2 separate regions of the Homo sapiens genome follow, and region 2 is linked to region 1. Evidence: promoter capture Hi-C in 16 types of primary human blood cells and fetal thymus (Javierre and others, 2016). All regions are on one chromosome and are shown on one strand. The core of a region is centred on a gene start or on the middle of the fragment in contact, and the rest is flanking DNA. Distances in the headings are between cores, read along the strand shown.

Region 1 (7,403 bases), core at 1,452-3,951:
TAAGAAATGAGTTGAGGCCAAAGTTCTACAAGACATTAAAGGAGCCTAGTGGAAAAGTAGGTCCTAAGTAGGATAGACCAGAGGGCTCAGGAAATTAGTTCCAGCTATCAAATCATGATAGCTACAATGCCCTGGGCACTGATATCATGTATGGCTTGTGGTGGTTTAAAACATGCCTACACATTCCTTGACATTCCTCCCACATAGAGGTGGAGTCTAAGTTCCTTTGCTTTGAATATAGGGTAGCCGTGCTGACTCCTTTCTAAGGAACAGAATGTGGCACGTGGTAGAACTGATTCCAGGGCTAGGTTAGGAAAGGCAATACAGCAACTATATGGCTTTCTTGTTCGCTCTCTGAACACTTGCCCTTAGAATCCAGCCCTGATATTTCAAGGAAGCTCAGACACAGGGAGAGGCCATGTGTAAGTGTTCCAGGGACAGCTCTAATGGTCCCAGGTCCTAGCTGACAGCCACCATCAACCACCAGACATGTACGCTTTTACGGGACCCTCAGCCCCAGCCTTTGGGCTGCCCCCACTGGTGCTGAATGGATCAGAAACCAGCCGTCCCAGCAGGAACCAGCCCATTTTGCAGATTTGAGAGCAAAATATAATTGGAATTCTGGGGTGGTTTGTTACGTAACAGTAGGTAACCAGAAATCCATAATTTCCGGGTTTCTAGTATTTTCTTTTTCAAGAAAGCTCAGGTGTGGTGGCTCATGCCTGTAATCCCAGTGCTTTTGGAGGCTGAGGCAGGAGGATCACTTGAGGCCAGGAATTTGAGACCAGCCTGAGCAACATAGCAAGATCCCGTCTCTGCAAAAAATCGTTAAAAATTAGCCTGCTGTAGTGGCAGGAGCCTGTAGTCCCAGCTATTTGGGAGGCTGAGGCTGGAGCAGTGAGCTATGATTGTGCCATTGCTTTCCAGCCTGGATGACAGAGCAAGACTTCATCACCCCCAAAATAAAATAACCAGAGCAGTGTTTTTAATGTTATCTTTAATTCCCTCTGCAAGCCTAAAAAGTAGGTATACTGCGATCCCTTTCGGAAAAATGAGGAAAGGGAGATCCAGGTGGTGAAATGCCTGGCTCAGGTTTCACACTAATTGGCAGGGTCAGGATTTAGCAGCTTCAAAGAACGGGCCTTCTCCACTACTCCAGGGAGTCTCCAAGACACTAAAGGGGATTAGACCTGTTTCCCACAGCTTTAGGAAGAATTTGGATTCCAAAAACAGCTTGATTGTTAAAATAATAACATCTGTATTATCACCTGCAACGTGTCTCTGTATAGGCTTAAAAAGGCTCAGCAGCTTTATGGGTTATATATGGTTTTTTACCCACCTTATCCTGTTTAATCTTAACTGCCCCATGAGCAGGTTATATCATCTTCGCAATTTCACAGGTAAAACTAAGAATCAATAGACTAACTCTCCATAGCTTGTAGGAGGTGGCAGAGATGAGAATGCAAACTCAGGCCTGATGTGCAAGTGTTTCCCTCTGCCTCTTGCCTGTAAAAAAACAGTTTGTAAGAAACACACTTTATTCAGTAATACAAACGAAAAGTTTTCTGTTGCCAAGATTCACAAGAAGGGAGCTGAGTTAGTGGTCACTCACTGCCCAACACCCTAATTTCACAAGTGAAGTGAAGTTCCAACAAAGTAGGCCTCTTGGAAGAAATGTAGACGTTGCTGTCCTTTAACCAGGAAAATTGCGTTCTCGGGACTTCACGCCTATGTATCGCTTCACACCAACGCTGCGCAGTACCACAGGGCAGAAATGGGTGCTTGTGGTATTCCAGCACATAGGACTTCCTCCCCAGGATGCAGTTACCCACACTGCTCACATATTTGCATTTCTGTGGCCCCCTGTCAGCCTGAGTCTGCACTACGTGGTAAGCACTTGACATTCGCCGTCTCATTTCCCCAACTCCACTCGCACTTCCCCTTTCTGTGCAGGCTAAGGACAGATTCAGGTTACCGGAGGGAAACAACATTTCAATGAATTTGTTAGTCGCCTTTATCGCTATCAAAGCCAATCGTGACAAGTTTGTCTTTTAATGCAGCAACCAGTACTCGCGCATAAGCCTCATAGATTTACAGAGGCCATTTTAGAAACACGACCGAAACTTAGGTTAAGTCAGCTTTGCCTAAGATCACGCCACTCGCAAAACAGCTGAGGTTCGAACCCGCACTGGGAAGGCTCGGAAGACCCCAATCTCCTATCTCAAATTCCCACTGCCGAAGCCCCACGGTTCTCTGCCTATGCGAACCATGCAAATACAGCGGTCGTCGCGCCACAGGCCGTGCTAGCCGCCAGCCCAGCCCCATCTAGCCACCGCCTCCGGGAGAGTGGCGTGCCGCGAGTCGCGGGTCCCAAGTGCCGTCCGCTCTGCCCTGCAGCGCGCGTGGGAACGCGGCGGCGGTGGCCTCTGGGCTGCCCACGGCGACCGCCTGCGCGCACGGGAGCGGGTTTCCGCTATCCCCACCGTGGCCTCCTCCTCGCCGCCACCACCTTCCCACCCCCCGGCCCGCGCAGGGGCTGGCGTCCGGGAAGCGCGCGGCGATGCTTCTTTTTCGCCCGGCACCGCTGCAGCCACCTCACATCCGGGCGCGCGGCGGGGAAGGCGGCGCCGGGGCCAGGGTGCGTGGAGGGAGTTATTAAGGGGGAGGGGGCCGAAGAGGAGGGGCGGAGGGCCGGGCTGCAGTTACGGCGGCTGAAGAGAGACAGCCCAAGCCGGTCGGGGTGGGGGCGCGAGAGCGAAGGCTGCGGGGAGCGGCGCTGGGACCGGTGCGGGCAGCGGGGAGGGGAGCGGCGGCCGAGGCAAAGGGCCGCCGAGCGGCGGAGGCACCGAGTAAGGGTCGGCGGCGGTGGCGGCTGGGTCCGGGGCACCGCGCGCCCGGTGCTCCCGGGTGTAGAAGGGGCGCGGGCGCATTGCTCCCGGGGTCGCGTGCGTGAGCGCGGGCGCCGGGGCGCCCGCAGGGGGTGGGCAGGGGCGCGAGGCCCGCAAGGCGGCCGGCGGGTAGCCGGCGGGCTGGCTGGCGGGGACCGAGCCGCCGGGCCGGGGAGGACGGCTGCGGGCCTGCGCTAGCTCCAGCTTGAAGCGCCCGGGCCGGGAGATTCGGCCTCCCTCCTCCCTGCGGCCGGCCGCCCCTCAGTGAGTACGGTCTCCGCCCTTCCTCCGAAGGAGGCCGCTGGGCCCGGGCCTGCGTGAGGGGCTGCGGGTTGGGGTCGCGGCCCGGGGAAGCCAAGTTTCGGAGCTGAAGCCGGTGCTCGCCCTTTCCTTGCCATCGGCGCCCCTGACATGGCCACAGGTGCGGCTGGCCTGGCGAGGGGCGCTCGGGCCCCGTCCCCAGTCCCTGATCGCCGGATAACAAGGGGCAGCTGGCGCCGTCCATTGGCAAGTGACAGGCACTTTCCAACAGACTTCGCGGGTTCCCAGCCTAACCAGTCTTCTACCTGCCCCCACTCCGGGAAACTTCCCCACCAGTCTTGAAAGATCCCCATGGGTGGCAGCTACTAATCTTGGTTTCTCTTGTGTTAAAGCTGCTTAAAGGTTATATACCTTGAATTGGGCACCTTCTACTTTTTACCATGTTGATGCTTAGGATACTAGGAAAGAGAACTGAGTACCAATGATTCTATCTCCAAGTTCTAATTTATAGCATAATTTTGGGGTGGGGACTTGTTTTTAACACTAGCTGTTTTGAGAGATTAAAAAGTTTCAGCTTCTGAAGAAACAGCCAAGATTTCTGAAAACTTACTGTTCTCGGTGACAATTTTGTGCCGATTTATCTTCCAGGTGCAGAGCATTGTAGACCAAGGAGCCATGGATAGGAGAAGTATGGGTGAAACAGAAAGTGGAGATGCTTTCCTTGACCTGAAGAAGCCTCCTGCCTCCAAATGCCCCCATCGCTATACAAAAGTAAGGTTTGCCACTAATGAAATAGTGTTTCTTTTTAGGTGGCGAAGTTAGTAACATTGTATAACTATTTCATTCCTATTAAGTGGTAATCTCATTCTGACTCACTACATGGACTAAATATTAACTAAATTTAGTAGTGCATTACTTTGAACATTTTTCTGCAAGTGTAGATACCCAGCGTTTAAGCTGGAATTTGCTTTGAGAGGCTTTTAGGTGAAGGGAATGTAGGCTTAGATTTTTTTAAAATTGCGGATCAGTATACTTTGTAAGTTCTGTAACAGCTATGTAATTGGTACGTTTATTGATTTACATACTGTACTGTGAGGATTAAAGCCCTAGGATGCGTTACAAAGTTAGTGTCCTCTGTATTGATGTTTCCTTAAGAGGCAGACTCCCCATAGGAATGCTCTTGAGTGTGCTTTTCATGGGTAACTGGCTTTTCAATCCTGTTTTTTTATTTTCTATTACAAATTGGATATGGACTCAAAAAAGTAAGGCTTCAGTCATATTTCCCCTAGCTAAAAACTGGAGATGCTTAAACTGCTTGTCCAGATAACTGCTTTTGGGAGAGAGAGGAAGTCATATTTATTAAAGATCTTGCATCAGTACATGTCTTGTTGGCTACTGAATGTTTTTGAAGAGGTTGACAGGACTCAAATTGTAAATTCATTTCTGGGTCCCTGAAATGTGTCAGGCTGGATCCCATAAAACTTGCTCAACAGTGTTGAAGCAGTTGGGACCACTGATGACAAGAAGGGTTATATCCTAGTTGGGCACACATCCATATATTTCCTTAGTATGGATTTTTCTTTTTTTTTTTTTTTTTTTTGCACCCGACAGGGCGTCACTTTGTCGCCGAGGCTGGAATGCAGTGGTGCAATCATGGCTCACTGCAGCCTGGACCTCCCGGGCTCAAGCCATCCTCCCATCTCAGTCTCCTGAGTAGCTGGGACCACAGGCGTGCACCAGTACGCTCGGCTAATTTTTGTATTTTTTATAGAGATGGGAATTCGCCATGTTGCCCAGGCAAACTCCTGGGCTTAAGCAATCCGCCCACCTTGGCCTCCCAAAGTGTTGGGATTACAGGGGTGAGCCACTGTGCCAGGCCTCAGTCATTGACTCTGACATGGCTTATTGTCCCTGGCTTCCTGGGATACTGATTGGTTAATGCTTTAAAGCCAGCTCTTGTTTGTGTTCTGGTGCACTACTCTTACCTACTTGATAAAGTATCAAATACTGTCAGATTAATACTCATTTTCAGCACTGAAGGAAACTGAACTGCAGTAAGAGAAATGTTTTCAGGTGTAAAGTGTTCTTGGTTGATTGCTCTCTTAGGATGATCTGTTTTGGTATGACAGCATGTAAGTTGATAGAAAACTTTTTCCACATTCAGATTTGGTCTTCCCAAATATATTTTCTCTCAAACCTGAGAGTGTTTGAGTAGTGTTTCACAACTTAAATTCATTTCCTAAAATGCTGACAGGTGAATTCTGAATGGAGAAAAGCCATCAAATGAAGGGAAAAGAAAATCTTCCAGTACTTTTTTTTTTTTGAGATGGAGTTTTACTCTTGTTGCCCAGGCTGGAGTGCAATGGCACCACCTCTGCCTCCTAAGTTCAAGTGATTCTCCTGCCTCAGCCTCCTGAGTAGCTGGGATTACAGGCACGCGTCAACATGCCCAGCTGATTTTTTTTTTTTTTTTATAGTAGAGACGGGGTTTCTCCATGTTGGTCAGGCTAGTCTCGAACTCCCAACCTCAGGTGATCTGCCCGCCTTGGCCTCCCAAAGTGCTGGGATCACAGGCGTGAGCCACTGCGCCCAGCCGTTCCAGTACTTATTTTTTTGTTTCTTTGAGACGGAGTCTCGCTCTATCACCAGAGTGCAATGGTGCGATCTTGATTCACTAGCCTCTGCCTCCTGGGTTCAAGTGATTATCCTGCATCAGCCTCCCAAGTAGCTGGGACTACAGGCGTGCGCCACCATGCCCAGCTAATTTTTGTAGTTTTAGTGGAGACGGGATCTTGCCATGTTGGCCAGGCTGGTCTTGAAATCCTGAACTCAAGTGATTCACCTGCCTCAGCCTCCCAAAGTGCTGGGATTACACGTGTGAGCCACTGCACCTGGCCCCCTTCCAGTACTTTTTGTTTATTATTTTTTTTGAGCCGGAGTCTCACTGTGTCGCCCAGGCTGGAGTGTAGTGGTGCAATCTCGGCTCACTGCAACCTCTGCCTCCCTGGTTCAAGCGATTCTCCTGCCTCAGCCTCCCAAGTAGCTGGGACTACAGGTGCACGCTGCCACACCCAGCTAATTTTGTTTTTGTATTTTTATTTTTATTTTTATTTTTTTTTTTTTGAGACGGAGTTTCGCTCTTGTCGCCGAGGCTGGAGTGCAATGATGCTATCTCGGCTCACTGCAGTCTCCGCCTCCGGGGTTCAAGTGATTCTGCTGCCTCAGCCTCCCAAGTAGCTGGGATTACAGGCATGTGCCACCACGCCCAGCTCATTTTTGTATTTTTAGTAGAGACAGGGTTTTGCCATGTTGGCCAGGCTGGTCTCAAACTCCTGACCTCGCTGGTCTCGAACTCCTGACCTCAGGTGATCCACCCGCCTCGGCCCCCCAAAATGCTGGAATTATAGGTGTGAGCCACTGCACCTGGCCTATTTTTTTTTGTATTTTTAGTAGAGACGGTTTCACTGTGTTGCTGGTGTTGAACTCCTGAGCTCAGGTGATCCACCCACCTAGGCCTCCCAAAGTGCTGGGATTATAGGTGTGAGCCACCGAGCCTGGCCCCTTCCAGTACTTTTATTTTTATTTTTTTGAGATGGAGTTTCACTCCTGCTGCTCAGGCTGGAGTGCAATGGCACGATCTTGGCTCACTGCAACCTCCGCTTCCCGGGTTCAAGCAATTCTCCTGCCTCAGCCTCCTGAGTAGGTGGGATTACAGGCATGCACCACCATGCCTGGCTAATTTTGTATGTTGGTCAGTCCTGTCTTGAACTCCTGACCTCAGGTGATCCACCCACCTCAGCCTTCCAAAGTGCTGGGATTATAGGTGTGAGCCACCACACCCACCCTTTCCAGTATTTTTTTCACTAAAGTTCTAACCAGTAGTCTACTGGTAGAGTCCAGGCAGAGAGGCTTTTGAATCACTTTCACACACCGATCAGAGGTTAACATGTATATTTCATCTTTGTGTATGTTTCTATCTTTATGCTTACATCATTTTTAGGGAGATATTTCTCTTTCTTAGGGTAGGACTTATGTTTCTTTGCAGTAAAGATTAAGAACCTCAGTATTGTCCATTTTTGACAGTCCAGCCTCAGAATTCTGTCATACGTAGATAAATGTGCCTTGAAGAACTGGTTAAAAGCATTTTTTAGCTTAATGACAGTGGAGCTTAGATTTAAGTCTTTTCTACCAAATTAATTGGAAATAGGTTTACTTTCTACTCTTAAGAGGATTTAGTTAATGACAATTTTAGGA
Region 2 (7,403 bases), core at 1,468-3,967, 460 kb before region 1:
CCACTTATGAAGAGTTCTTGGATTTCAGTCACCAGTGCTGACAATGGTTAATATACCAGAATGTATACTAGACATATTATCCCTTTGCCTCATGGGGCATTGTTACATAGTGGTTAAAATGAGAGCTCTAAATTTGAGTTTGAATCTTGAATTCACAACTTACTAGCTGTTTGACCATGAGAAAATCAACCTCTGAAAGTCTCATTTGTAAAGGGGAGTAACAGTACCTATCCTGAATTGTTAAACAAGAATGTACACATGGAAGGTGGCGGGCACCTGTAGTCCCAGCTACTTGGGAGGCTGACACAGGAGAATGGCGTGAACCCAGGAGGCGGAGCTTGCAGTGAACCAAGATCCTGCCACTGCACTCCAGCCTGGGTGACAGAGCATGACTCCCCCCCCCACCAAAAAAAAAAGTACACATGGACTAACAGCTACCGTTTACCAAGTGCCTAAAAAGTTAAATAAGTTCTAACCAAGCGCAGTGGCTCACGCCTGTAATCCCAGTACTTTGGGAGGCCGAGGCAGGTGGATAACCTGAGGTCGGGTGTTCAAGACCAGCCTGACCAACATGGAGAAACCCCATCTCTACTAAAAATACAAAATTAGGCGGGCATGGCATGGTGGTGCATGCCTGTAATCCCAGCTACTTGGGAGGCTGAGGCAGGAGAATTGCTTGAACCCGGGAGGCAGAGGTTGCAGAGAGCCGAGATTGCTCCATTGTACTCCAGCCTGGGCAACAAGAGCGAAACTGTCTCAAAAAAAAAAAAAAAAAAAAAAGTAAAATATGTTATATAAACTTGCTAAATGTAACACACACACACATAAAACGTTAGGGGTACCCTCTCCGAAACCGTATTTCTGGAAAAGTGTGACGCTACAGTCTGTCACTGATATAAAATCCCAGACAAAGACCAACTAAAGAAAATCCCCACCAAAGAAAATACATTTTTGGTTTCTTTAAGGGAGTCAGTTCCGGACTGTGGAAGTTCTTCTGGGGATAATTCAGGGACCCAAACCCACATGGGGACTACAGTTTCTATTTCAGTGCAAGAAAGCCACGTAAGCTGTTTGCCCACCTGAAAGGACCTTTTAAATTCAAACTATTACAAGAATAATCCAGAGCCTTCTTCCTTCCTCAAAGACGATTACATTTTAAATGCCCAGTTAGTGGGAAACATAGCTCCCTAGTTTTTACATATTTCAAACTGTAGTATCAATGTGGCTTTAAGATTTCCTACTGGTTGGGTGTGGTAGCTCACTCCTGTAATCCCAGCACTTTAATAGGCTGAGGCAGGAGGACTGCTTGAGGCCAGGAGTTTGAGACCAACTTGGGTACCATATAGAGATCCTGTCTATACAATTTAATAATTAGCTGGGCACGGTGGCATGCATCTGTAGTCCCAGCTGCTCAGGAGGTTCACTTGAGCCCAGGAGCTCAAGGCTACAGTGAATTATGATCGTGCCACGACTGCACTCCAGCCTGGGTTCCAGAACGAGACCATCTCTTTAAGAAAAAAAAAAAAAATACTAATCACACCTCAAAATCCTCCTACTCTCTGTGACACTGATCTGTCTCACCTGGGGCAGTCAGCTGTGCACTTTTACACAGCACCTGCTCATTTCCCCACTTCCCAGAATCTCACAGTTGTTGCAACAACAGCCTTTTGCCAGTGGTTGGGCCAAATGCCCCTCCTCTCCGACTCCTGTTTCCTTAAACTGTAGTTTTGTTTCCTGCACTTAAGATTTCTAGGGAGCCGCTGTGGCTCAGGCCGGTTGCCCTGGCACTCGGGGAGGTGAGGCTACACGTTCGAGGCCAACCTGGTCAACACTGATTAAAAAAAAAAGATTTCTATATATATATTCTGCAGGTACTTTAAACGTGTTTCTGCCCGTTTTCTGTCAACACTGTAATCAACTGGTGTATCAGTGTTAAAACACAATGCTAGCCCAGTAATTTTTACATTTGATAACTTTACAGTTACCATCTATGTTTTAATATAAAATAGATGACTTAGGGCCATAATACATGATGAAATTATGTCTGTCTATGAATATCCACCAGAAATCTATCTGGTTATTTTCCCTCTTTCCTTAAATCACTTAGTCTTCTGGACTAACATTTAATCCCACTTTATAGGTTTATTTCAGTTATCAAATGGTATTTACAGAGACTACGAATTGTGTAGCCTAGAATTGCCTAGCCTAGAAAGGACTTAGGTTCTAGAATCTTTCACAATATTTCTTCCCACTATTATACTCTATGCAAGCTGGTAGGTATGAGATAGAGCTTGAAGATACTCCTTTATGCTTCACTTCAGAAACATTTCTTGCTTCTTCAAATTATGGAGAGAAGCAGGGAAGAGAAGTTCTCAACAGGTTTGAGGCAAGACCATTGTTTCCAGTATGCACGATTTTTCTTCAAGCTTACCAACACTGTCCTCCAGGTGACGCTGGTAGAATGAGGAACATCAATCATTACAGGAAGGCAGTATTATCAAGTGAGCATTTTAATTATGAAGGAAACAGAAAACAAGTTAGAAGACTGAAGGCAAAACTGACTTGTTAATAACAGCAACATCACTAGTTTTATACTTCAGAGGACCTAAAGCCAAGATGTAAGTTTCAAGGTTACAGACTGGTGGCATCAGAATATATCCTTAACACATGTGTCCTGCTCCATCCTCCCTACAGCAGGCTACTTACCTGCCCTTCCCCAGCCCTGAAGAAAGCCCAGGTAAACCCAGAGGGTTACTGAAACTTACACCCTTTCCAAAAGCCTTAGTTAAGGCTGATGAGATTAATAACATAGAGACTGAGTCATCCCAGTAACATTAAGAATTTAATCTACAAACACCAAGTTAGCAGGGAAAGTGACCCCTGCCAGTCCCTTCCAATATATTCTTTTTTTTCTTTTAAAGAAAATACCTATAAGCACAATATATTCCATTTAGATGATGGGGGAGAAATGGTTTATCACCATTCTGAGATGGCAGAATTAAAGCTTGGATTGACTCTTCTACGCTGGGTGGCTTTTCCAACTCATTAATTATTTCAAATATAGATATTATAGATTCCTTTGGTTTACAAAAGGCTACCTTAACCCTCCAGAGAAGATCTATGGACACAAGTAGCTTGCTGCAGGAAAGCATTTTACAAGCCTACTAGAAAGCCAGTCTTTTTCTCTGCTCAAACTAGATTTCGTTCTGGTAACATCTCTCCATTCTTGCCTTTTTCCCCCATTTCAAGTTGCCTCAGGTTTCTGATTGTTCCAGAACACACCTTCTAGCCATTTTTCCTTAACCTCCATTTCCCCTTCCTTTAAACCTCGTCCCTCCTTTCTTTTCACCACATTTATTTCCCAAAGGGCTCCGAACACTGCAGTCTTTACGTCTCACTTAGAGGGTGAGCAACCACTTCATGAAAATGTGTGGAGAGGCCTCAGCCTGCATAATCCCAGCACCACTCAGTTACTGGGGAGGAGGGGCTTAAGTGTGACCTGCTGTGGACAGAGGCAGCTTTATCCCACAGAAAATTAAGGTTCAGGGTCCCTTCCAAGGAAATGCATTCGTCAGTCCCATTTTTGTAAAATATGCAAAACTATATTTTAGATTTTCTTTTAAAGGACCCCCTGAATTACATAAAGTTCAGCCTCCAGACCTAGACCGTCCCCCGGTCTGGAAGAAAACCTGCCTCACCACAACAGCATGCTAATAGTGCTCAAGTCAAGATCACCAACAAATCAACATACGGGCAACGGTGTTGCTGGTTTCCAAACACACCCAGTTATGTGTGTAACAAGGACACCAGAGGAAAGGCAACTCTTCAAGCACCTTTCTTACCTGAACAATCCTAAATATTGGCCCCAACTACATATTTCATCTGATATTAACATCAAAAGCCTTCAAATGAGCTTTCCAAATGACTTAAGATTTTAGGGAGCCTTTGTATTGGCAGTTTTTTTTCGGAACTCCCTCCAAAAGGCCAGCAAAGGATACATTTACTATAATCATGGGCAGTAATTCTCAGACTTAAGCCAGCTAAAAATCGCCTGTGAGAGCTGGTTACAATGCAGATGTCTGAGTCTCACCGCCCGAATTTCTGAATGTATAGGTCTAAGGCGGAGTTCAAGGGGATCCTCCCAGGTCTCAGGAGGTTGTACACTGAACATAGGTTGGTGGTCGCAGTTGTTCTACCACTGTGTGACCTTGACGCAGGGAGAGGAAATATTCATTTACAGAAAACGTAAAATAACGTGGAGAGAGAGTGAGATGGTAACCGGAACTCAGAAATGCAGGTGGTGTGTGACCCACGGTATTTTGCTAGGGTGTGGCTGGGCACGACTCATCCACCGGAGAAGCTGCAGAATCGATTTATGAGGGTCTCAGGAATGCAAAGACACACAGATTCGTCTCACCTAGAAGTCACGTTTCATTTTAATCTCCAAGCAGACAGCGCAGCAGCAAACCTGGGGCTGTGGAGTGGGGCCCCACACCCTCCGCCCACTCTCCCGCCCCCGTCCACGCCTAGACTGCAGGAAAGGGGTCTTCGCACACAAAGCCAGACCCCCAGGCGTGGGAAGATGGAACCAGAACAATTCGAACGAGCAGAGCAAAACAGATCGGAATTGCAGACTTCAGGTCGTGGCAGAGAAAACCAGCTGAGACAGGGCGCCACTTACTAGGTGATTCTTTATTCCAAGTTGGGGAACGGAGGAAGACGAGAGGGGGAGCCCCCGGGTCCGGTGAAACGCTCTAGGAGAAATGCGGCTCCTTCGCGTCCCCTAGGGCACCCTCTGCCCCCGGCCGGGTTCCGAACTAAGATGTGGCGACCCCGACCGGCCCGCCCCCCTTCCGGGGCTGCCTTCGCGATCCCGAACTGCACCCTCCCGGATCCCCCACCCTGGGCCCAGCCTCAGGAAGTGGCGGGGCGCCCAGCGGGAGCGGGAAGCGCGGGCTAAGGGCGGGCGGGCGGCCACGCCCAGCCGGGTCGCCGGGTCGCCCATGGCCGGGAGGGGAACGCGCCCGCGGCCATCCCCGTCCCTCCCCAACGCCAGGCCCCCCCCGGCCAGCCGCCCGGGCTCCCGGCGCGCTCACCGCCTTCATAGCGGAGGCCATGTCGTCGTAGCGCTCCGCCTGCTCGGCCAGCCGCGCCCGCTGCAGCAGCTGCTCCCGGTCCCCCATGTCGCTCGCGGCTCGGCCTCGCCTCGCGCCTCACACCGCTGGCTCGCTAGCCCTCCCGCCGGTCAGTCCGCTCCCCGGTCGCTGCGGAGGCCGCCGCCGCGCACGCGCACTGGCTCGCCGGCCGGCCGGAGGCTGCAGGCTGCAGGCTGCAGGCAGCGCCGCCGCTCGCGCCCTCTCGCTGGCTCGCCCCGCGCGCTGTGGCTCGCGCCGCGGACAACGCCGAGGGAGGAGACGCGGCCGCGCTGGGGGATGGGAGGACGGGACGACGCCTGCGCAGTGAGAGTGGCCAGGCCGGGCGGCGGGGAGCGGCGGGAGTGGGAGGGGGGAAGGGCGGGCCGGCCCTAACGGTCTATTTCAAGGTGACGTCACCTACTATAAATAGCCACCGCCGCCGCCGCCGCCCGGCCTGAAAGCCGCGCAGGCGCTCTGCGAGTGCTGCATTTTACCGCCGCAGAGATGGAGGTGGAGAAGGGAAAGCCGGGCAGGAGACTGCGGAGCCGGTGGAGGGGGCGCGGTGATGGCGGCTGCACAGGCAGTGCATTGTCATAGCCCCACCCTGAAACGCGCCACTCCATCCACGTTAGAGATCTGGCTTGAGAAGGGCCCCAAAAGCAAGCAAACATACTGGCGGAGAAGCCGGGAGACCGCGTGCCCCGAGGGGCGGGTCCGCCCAGCCCCGCCCCAGCCGTCCCGCCCGCCCCGAGCCCTGCCTGTCCATGCGTTCTGCTGGGCCACACCTTGTACTGGTCCGGGCAGGATCGAGTCCGACCCTCGGGGACAGCCCCGCTACACAGACACACACAATCGAACCCAACCTGAGACGTAGCCTTGGGCAGGCTGTGCCTTCCACCAGAGGAGGGGACTGGGTGGCCAGGGCGGGACAAGTAATATTCAGGACACATTAGGAGCCAGCCCAGTGCTAGTCCCGTACAAGCATCCTCCTCTTTAATCCTCACTACCCAGCCCACAGTGGGCACAGCTGGTCTCCCCATATTTAAAACGTGGAACCTGAGGAAAAGCGAGGTTAGTGACTTGCTCAGGGTTACGCAGCCTGTAAGTGGTGGGGCCAGGATCTGAGTCCAAACCCAGGCTGAACTTTCTCTTGTGGCAAAGAGCTGGGGTGGCCCAACTGGCTGGTCACTGAGCCCCTCCCAATCCTGGCTGGTATTGGATGCTGAGGGTCCCTTGTGCCAGGCCCTGGACTGGGCTGCCCGACAAGCTAGGAAAATGATGATTAAAACAAGGCCCCCACTTGATTTCAACACGCCAAGGGCAGTGCAGGAGAGGGGGCCTTGGGCTCGCTGAGAATTTTATTGAGCATCTACTGCATGCTCAGCCCACAGGGATAAGCTGGATCTTGAAGGAGAGTCAGGAAAAAGATTAAGGCCTGGGGTACAGCATTGGCAAAGGCTTGGCAGTGACCTGGGAGATGGTGAGAAGAGAGGCCTAAGAATGGGAAGTGAGGTTGGGTAAAACAAGATTACGGAGTCTTTTAAATGCCAGGCCAAAGATTTGAGGCTTCATCCTTAGGTAATTGGGAAGCCATATTTCAGGCCTGGAATCTTGCTCTAGAGAGTAAGACATGTTCGAAGGGAGAAGGGAGGGAACTGGAGACCAGGCCTTTTCTGGACCTGTTTTCCATCTGGAGAATTGGACTTAACTGTTTCAAGGACTTTAGAATAGATATCCACATGCTGAAATGTCAGAGCTGGCAGGACCCTTAGAATCACCCCTGTCTAACCCCTTATCCTGAATAACGGGAAACTGAGGTCTGAGGGAAAGGAGGGGCTGGCCCTAGTTTGCACAGCGAGTGAGCAGAGCTGGGGTCTCCATACCAGGTTTCCTGCCTCCCAGGCCTTCCTCTTCCTGCTATGATGCTGAAACGATCACACTTCTGGGGGCCCATGAAACAGGATTTGAATGTGGGTCTAGGAGGAGGCCACTACCCCAGGCTTCACCATGCTTTGAAGAGTCACTTTTGCTGTTGGAATCGAGGTTAACAAACCAGGCTAATCTTTCCCCTAGTGAATATATTTAAAGAGCATGCTAGATAGTAATGAATCATCCACTCCACCCCCCATAAGGATGGGGTCCCAGTGAGAGATGGGAGGAGGGCCAGCCCTGGATGGGGGGACCTCCTCGGTTCCTTCTAGCTCTTAGAGGGCTTAGAGCCCTTCCAGCTTTTCTGATGAGGTTGGACTAAGATTGATTTCAAAACAG

Evidence for each region. The method cuts DNA at HindIII sites, captures the fragments that hold promoters and counts their contacts. A CHiCAGO score of 5 or more calls a contact.
Region 2: a contact is called between a fragment that was not itself captured here and the fragment with the promoter of EIF4ENIF1 in region 1, in 2 of 17 cell types (total B cells and naive B cells). The highest score is 5.9, in total B cells.

Annotation. Positions count from the first base shown.
Region 1 is chr22:31,485,140-31,492,542 of GRCh38, reverse strand. EIF4ENIF1 (eukaryotic translation initiation factor 4E nuclear import factor 1) reads left to right here and starts at 2,701. Exons shown (of 19, transcript NM_019843.4): 1 at 2,701-2,849; 2 at 3,798-3,920. The coding sequence starts at 3,825. RefSeq lists enhancers at 1,687-1,746, 2,146-2,768, 2,769-3,392 and silencers at 2,297-2,946, 3,027-3,316. The HindIII fragment of the contact is 26,330 bases long and covers 1-7,403 here.
Region 2 is chr22:31,942,514-31,949,916 of GRCh38, reverse strand. It overlaps YWHAH (tyrosine 3-monooxygenase/tryptophan 5-monooxygenase activation protein eta), which reads right to left and starts at 5,382. Exons shown (of 2, transcript NM_003405.4): 1 at 5,097-5,382. The coding sequence starts at 5,183. LOC124900477 (a long non-coding RNA gene) reads right to left here and starts at 5,083. Exons shown (of 3, transcript XR_007068065.1): 1 at 4,682-5,083; 2 at 4,239-4,417; 3 at 765-2,453. YWHAH-AS1 (YWHAH antisense RNA 1) reads left to right here and starts at 4,551. Exons shown (of 3, transcript NR_171018.1): 1 at 4,551-4,684. RefSeq lists enhancers at 4,412-4,461, 5,205-6,062, 6,063-6,920 and silencers at 4,782-5,121, 5,192-5,411, 5,422-5,511, 5,792-5,941. The HindIII fragment of the contact is 578 bases long and covers 2,429-3,006 here.